2 separate regions of the Homo sapiens genome follow, and region 1 is linked to region 2. Evidence: promoter capture Hi-C in 16 types of primary human blood cells and fetal thymus (Javierre and others, 2016). All regions are on one chromosome and are shown on one strand. Each heading gives the region's core, a stretch centred on a gene start or on the middle of the fragment in contact. The rest is flanking DNA. Distances are from core to core; before and after follow the strand shown. Region 1 overlaps MMUT (methylmalonyl-CoA mutase). Region 2 holds the start of OPN5 (opsin 5).

Region 1 (3,841 bases), core at 294-2,793, 1.7 Mb before region 2:
TGTATTTAAAACATTCATGTTTTGAGTGAACTGTATTAATAATTGTGTATTTTACTGTGGCTGAGGAATTTTGAAACTATTGAAATGAATCCATTTCACTGATTCGCAGGTTGAAATGTGTTGGACTCTCAAGTATATCACCAGGTTTATGCCTATTACCTTGGTATTTTACCAGTTAAAATGGCTGTGGGGTGGGGAGGGGAACATTAATCTGAGAATTTATAGGAAAAACTTGTCATCCCATTGCTTTTGAATTAGTTTTAACCATGAAGCAACCGGAAGAGCAACCAACTTCCCCACACCCCCCTCCCAGTCCTTCCCTTGTTATTGGAGCCATGTGTTCCTTTAGGAGTAGAATACTTATTAATTGTTACTAGTCTTTTATCTCCTTTTGACATTTTGGTCTACTGCATTTGATTTTCTACTGTAATATAATTGCTCTTACTAAGTTCACTAGAGACCTCCTCTTTGTCTGATATTGTGAATAATTTTTAGTCCTTATCTTGAATTCTCTACAGTATTTAACATTATTGACCACCTCTTCCTTCTTGAGACGTTTTGCCTTTGTAACCCTTAACATGCTCCTTTGTCTCCTAACTTTTGTCATCCTGCATTTAAAAAAGGCTGAGTGAAAAACAGAATCTAATCTCATGTTATATCTGCTTCAGTGTTCCCATAGACACGATATTTGGCAAGGTAAAGTTTTTTGTACTTACTACCTAATAGGATTTTTGTGAGAAGACATTAAATCATTAAAAATAGTTCCTGGAACAGAATATGGCACTTAATGTGTTAATTTTTATTATTTTTCTATTTGTTGTTATTTAAAAATTATCTCATTATATGTATCATATATAAATAAATTTATTATATTAAGAACCAGAAGGAGTCTGAAATATTACCCTTCTTGCAAGCTAACAAGTTATCCTGTATAGTGGGGTGTTGGTTGATGATATGAGATCCCTGGATCAGAACCTAATGACAGTTTGTTACTACAATATTAATAGCCATAACATCAGCAGGTTTTGGGCTAGTTCCTTTGATGCCCAATTGATGTGAGTGATGTGAAAAGGACTGCTAGATGATACCTCATGTACAGTGCATTGGGTTACATTCAAGGAGAGGAAGCCTGAGCTTAGGGATTCGGAATCTTTTGTAATGGGTAATAAGCATGTCCTCCATTTTTCTAGAGGAAGACATTATTATATTGGACAGAAAGCAAACCTACTCTTTGCTCTGGAGGTAGCCAATATTTCTGTCTTCTAAGGCGATTCACTATACAGACATCTTTGAAAAGATAGTCCAGAATAAAGAGGTGTCAGTGCTTTGCTCCACAGGATGTGCAGAAAAGCAAGTGACCCATGGAAAATTTTCTCCCAATATATGGCAGTATCATTAAATGATTACTTTTGCTTTTAAGTGTTTATTTCTTAATATAATGAAGTTTTAAAAAAATATGTTGCTTTAACTGGTTAAGGTATAGTATAACTTGTATGTACTGTTTTTTTCTACTACTAATTTCATTAAAAAAATTAGATGACTTTTATTAAAGTCCTTTGATGGTTGCCCATTCCTTTTATATTCAAACCTAATCTTCCGATAGTCTGCAAGATGTGCTAGATGTGACTCTTGCCCATCTCTCTGACCTCATCTTATACCACTTTCCTCACTATGCCGTGTTCCTAATGCCCTTCTTTCTATTTTTAGAACATAAAACATATTTTCCTACATCTCAGAGCCTTTGCTTTTAGTGCTTCCTTTTTCAAACACTCTTACTGTTTTATGTTCCCTTGGGATCCCCCTTTTTATAATTTATATCTTAGTTCAAAAGTCATATCTTCACATCTTCAATAACTTTAAAATGGTTCTTCCAGACAGCCCATTCCATCTTTGCGTGGTTTAGTGTCTTTGTAGTACTTATTACCTTATGAAATTGTCTTACTAGTTTATTTATTTAGTTATTTATCATCTGCATCCTCTGACTAGATGTTACAGATGTTAATGTCTATAAGAACAAGTACTTTTTCTTTGGTCTCATTTATTACTGTATCGCTATAGTAGATATAGAGATATAGTAATATCTGGCACATATTAGGCACACAGCTAATGTTGGATGAGTTAGTGAACAAATGGATGGAATATGCTAAAAGATTTACTTCTTATCAAAAAATATTTATGGGAGTGTTGCTGTTTATCCATTTGTGTTAAGTGGTGAATTATTCAGCAACCTTCAGGTACTTGTCTATATATATAATTATTAGGTCATTCAGTCATTTCTTGGTTGACAAATGTTGAAAAGAGAATTGGATGCATAAAGGCATCCAGAATAAATTTTTCTTAAGTAATTTCAGAAGAGATGCTTTCATAATGCATTAAAAAATTCTTATTTTACATTTTTACAGTCATTTACTTATGTAATAAAATGTTTAATTATATTGAATATTATGGTAAACAGATATCTTTATCACAAAATAATGAAGTTAATGGAACCACCATTTCATGTTTCAGATGTACAGTGGGAGAAATCACAGATGCCCTGAAAAAGGTATTTGGTGAACATAAAGCGAATGATCGAATGGTGAGTGGAGCATATCGCCAGGAATTTGGAGAAAGTAAAGAGATAACATCTGCTATCAAGAGGTAATATGTAAGGTTTCTTAGGCCAGAATTTCATCTTTTCTGTTAGCACAATCCCCTTGAATCTACTGGGAGCTTAATTTCCTTACATACAACTGAGAAAATTTTTGAATTTTATAATAATAAATAGTAAATTAAATATTAATTATATAGACTATATAACATATAATAGAGTATATAATTTATTCATTACATATAATATATAATTAGAAATATATCATACATGATACATATTATATATCTATACTATCATTTTAATAGGTACATGATAATATTTAATAATAAATATCAAATATTGAAACTAATATTAGTTTTCATATAATTAATACTATTTTGAACTTTCACCATAGTCCCCTTCAGGAGTTTCTCATGTCAAACAGATGTTTAACTAACAATGATATTGCTTCATATCCTCCAGGTATTTATATTTCAATCTGCTTACTATGGTAGAGTTTCATATTTTTTGAAGTTGTTTACATTTTTCATTGCTTGAATAATTATAAAATCTTAATTTTCATAATTGAAAGTAAACATTTAGTTGGCATCTATGCATACATTACAATCAGTATTTATTGAACTGATAATAACTTACATTTATTTCCACAGCATGACTTGGAAATATATATTAATGTGATCATATTTCTCAAGTGTAAGAACTAGCTTTTTGATGATTGGTCTTTCCAACCTCTGTAACAAGCTTCCAATTAAAAACTGAATTTCCATACTTGTACACTAGATAAATATCAAAACAGCCAAGGTGAAAGTCATCAAAATGGAACTTTTTTCTTTTAACAAAGATAAGTGCTTTTTTGTGTTGGAAGTAAATTTGTCAGTGGAGCAAGCAAGCATTTTGATTTATATAGCATGATAAGAAACCATATTGCTGTTACCTTGGGAGAGTTCACACTTATGAAGGGTAGATGAGATATGGACAATTCAAAGCAGCCAGTCTATCACATATATGTATAAATGACCATGAAGTCACTTTTTAGTTTATATTTCAATCTTTCTGCATGTTGTACTCTGTACCCTGGCTCACGAAGGTGGGAGGTTGTCATTTTTTGTCTTAGTTCACCGTGATGTTCTCAGTGTTATGTGCTTACAGTCTGTGCCATCTTTCAGACTTTCCTCTAAGGGGGAAATGGCTTTAATGGAGCTCTCAATGTAAAATAGATGCATTAACAAAATATGGACGAGAGTAGGG
Region 2 (3,695 bases), core at 1,055-3,554:
GACAGAGTGAGACTCTATGTCCAAAAAAAAAAGGAATCTTGCAACATCTACACTAGCCTATTCTAGGAGAGTGAAAACCAGACACACGGCCAAGTCCAAGAAGTGGATCTAGGGTGAGTCCAAACCCCTCCAGTCGACCCCTCTCCTCACCCTGCGTGACTGTTCTCTAACATACCATTGGCTCCACCTCCTAGTGCCCTGATCCTCCTGAAGCTCCCCCTGTCCAGGGACTCTTTTTCAACCTGTTTTTCTGGCTCCATCTCAGCAAACCCACTGGAATATGATTGTGGACTTTCCTTCCAACTCCATGTGTATCAGGTGGGAAATTCTCCTGATTTCCTCACCCTGGTTGCAATCCTCCTGCAATCCTCCCTGCTTAAGATTGGGAATGGACTGATAGGCCTCTCTGTTTTGTGTTGTCTGGAGAGATTTGTCAGGTTATTGATGTTACTTTTTTAATTCATTCCTTGAAAGTGATGGAGCTATGCTAAATACAATTGATCAAGTTGCTTATTTTTCTGCCTTTTCTGTTAATTGAAAGTACTTAAGTTTAATAAAAATGCAATGTGGATTTTACAGAGATAAGACAGTTTCTGTTCCAGCAGAATGTTTGCCCATTTTATTCTCTGCTCTATTCCCAGCAACTTAAAACAGTGGCAAAGAGTGGGCGCTCAATATATATTTATGTTGAAAAGAGATGGGGACTCATTTATAAGAAACAGAATTTAAACTAGTAAAACACTAACAACAATAAAGACAAAGACCCAGGGAATCACTTTACAGCAGAATTTGGTTGAATCACATGAGTTCCTTTTGCCTCAAGTACTGACCATAGAGGGATATCAAGTATTTTCTAATGAGTTTTGCTACTTTCAGGAGGTTAAATGAAATTCTTAGCCAGTAATAAATAGATGAGAGAGGGAGAAAAAGAGAGAAAGGGAGGAAGGGAAGAAGGGTGGAAGAGAAAGATAGAAACAAAGAGAAAAGAGAGAGAGAGCAAGTTTGACCCAACATCTGAAAAAATTAAAGGCAAACAAACCTAAAGACATAACCCACCTTCACACTGGTCACCCAAAGTTAAAACAACAATTTTAAATTTAAGAAAAGTATGGTTTCTTTTCTTAAATTTAAATAGGTGGTTAAATTAAATCCTAACTGTCTAGATTAGTGCTATCCAGTATAAATGTAATGTAAGCCAGAAATGCGAGCCACATATGGATTCTAAAATTTTCTGGTAGCCACATTAAACAAAGTAAAAATTTACAAAGTAAAAATTTAATTTATAAATTTAAAATTTACAGTAAATTAATTTTAATAATATATTTTATTTAGCTTAACATACCTAAAATGTTGTATGTTCAACATGTATTTAATTTTTAAAAATTATTAATGAGATATTTTATACCACTTTTTGTTGTACTGAGCCTTCAGTATCTGGTGAGTATTTACACTACAGCAACTTTCAATTTGGAAAAGCCACATGTGGCTACTGAATGAATGAGATCATGCAGTCTAGAAGCAGGTGCACCCTTTCGTCAATTATGCACAAAAATCTTTTGACCCCGGACTTTCTTCCATTTATCACCAACACATTTTTCAACTGTCACCAAAATGGCTTAGCTATTTTGATGCGACTTTACTTTTAGGTGAAGTAAACTCAGTGTTTCTGCCATTACTATAGTACTATAGCACAATAGCACAATTGAGTTTTGCACAGTTGTGAGAACAGGAGACTGACCTAGATTATTTTTAAGGCCCATTCTCAACCTAAAACTTATGATTATGTCAAAAACATTATTTAAAAAGCACTCTGTTTAAATAAAATATCATTATCATTAATTTTGGTATTCAGAAAGTAAATCTACTCCCAAAGTAACCAAAATGAAATGGATAAATAATTTTGCTGTAAGAGTTCTTGGATTATCAATGGAATTTTATTCCTAATAATAATGATAATAAAGAGTCATTTCTAGGAAACATTTATTGAATGCCATAATGCCATTCCATCTTCTGCCTTTCCCCACTCTTCGCCTCCACTAAACTATCCACTTAAGTATCAGAATCCTTTCACAAAATTAACATATCAGCCCATGAATTTTCTAAATGCAGCCTTTGCACAGAAGAATTAAGGAAGCTTACCAATTATTGTTAGGTAAAAGCCAGCCACTAAATCCGCTTCCCAAGAAAGTTTGGAAGCAAAAGGATCCCCATCTCGAAGGTAATGGGGCAGGCGCTCGTCCTGAGGCAGGGCAGTGTGATTTAACGCCATTCTGTTCTCGAACCACGAGGGATCTGAAAAGCAAACCAGTAGAGATCTCAGCAGACCTGAATAAGCCAGCTTGAACCATTTCATAATCGTGGCTCCTGTTTTAAAACAAAAAGCAAGTTCCCAGGGTCATGCATGATTCTCTAATTAATAACTGGTAAAAATTTTAACATTTTTTTCAATGATCCAATTATGTCATTACTCAGTTATTCGGTTGGCAGATTATCCAAGCCTTCATTTTCTCCTCTGTTTTCTCATGCTACTCTTTGAGCCACTTCTTTTCTCCTTGGGGTGATTAAAAGGTTGAAGGCCAAACTGTGCAATTTACTGTTTCTTAGCAATTTTTGTAAAGGTCTGAGCAGGAAATGATATTGTATGGAGTGTGCACACATACACACACACACACTATATATATATAATTTATGTATATAAATTATATATAATATATAAAAAATTTACATATGTATATATATAACTTGTCAGAATATAGTATTTTTTGATTATCCAGATTTCCCAGAAAATCATTTCCATTGTACATTCAATGAGGTTTAGAGTTTTGTAAGGAAAGAAATAGAGCATTCAGTACAAAGGAACATGGACACTTAATTAATTGAAGCTAAGAGCTAGGTGATTGTCAAAGTGATCTTGAAATTTGGAGCTATTTAGAAAGGATTCAAGCTGGGTTGTAACTCACAGGCACATCCACAGGAAGGTTTGTTTCTCAAGTTTCCTAGAGCAGAAAGCAATTTCATTATTTCTCACCACTGCCCCAAATCCATACTTTCTATTTGCTCATTTATGCTTCTGGATGAAATCTTGAGCATTGAGGAATTTCTCAGATACACAGGTCTTAGTACTGTTTCTTTTGAATTGGAGTTTTAAAAGGTTTACACAAAGTCTTTGATGGGCTTTCTGCAAAAATAAAAGTCACATGATATCCCTCATCCTGAAACTTGGAGTCGTGTGTTGTTCTTCAGATAAAGTATGCTGCTGATGTTAAAACTTCCTTTGGAAGGGTCATTCCTTTGTCATGATTGTTCCTATTTGTTTTGAAAGGGGAAGAAATACTAGTGTGGCTGTTTCTCTTTTGAACTTGCCTATTTCAAATCGAACCAACAGATGTCACTGTTCAGCTCTCTAGGCAACAATTTCGGGCATTATATGAGACAGCAAGTGGAACACAGAGTTGTGTGCCCCACAGGCGGTGACAGGGTGATCGGCACATATCTAACCATGTAATTCACCTTCGCAAAAGACATGAATTTAACCCCTTTCTAACTGCCAACTTACAGCTTACAGAGGAAGGCTAGTGACCCTTTCAGTGGCCAGTTGGCTGAAACTACAGTCTCCTACACACAGTTTGAGGACAGTCATGTGCTAATGTTCATTCCAAATCCTTCTCCCTGAGATGGTTAGAAAGCTGTAGGAG

The links. The method cuts DNA at HindIII sites, captures the fragments that hold promoters and counts their contacts. A CHiCAGO score of 5 or more calls a contact.
Region 1: a contact is called between a fragment that was not itself captured here and the fragment with the promoter of OPN5 in region 2, in 1 of 17 cell types (M2 macrophages). The highest score is 9.6, in M2 macrophages.

What each region holds. Positions count from the first base shown.
Region 1 is chr6:49,440,639-49,444,479 of GRCh38, reverse strand. MMUT (methylmalonyl-CoA mutase) reads left to right here. Exons shown (of 13, transcript NM_000255.4): 10 at 2,509-2,640. Among named protein-coding and RNA genes, the nearest start is that of MMUT, 21 kb to the left of the region's middle. The HindIII fragment of the contact is 3,587 bases long and covers 1-3,336 here.
Region 2 is chr6:47,780,641-47,784,335 of GRCh38, reverse strand. It overlaps OPN5 (opsin 5), which reads right to left and starts at 2,304. Exons shown (of 7, transcript NM_181744.4): 1 at 2,140-2,304. The coding sequence starts at 2,269. The HindIII fragment of the contact is 3,260 bases long and covers 2,137-3,695 here.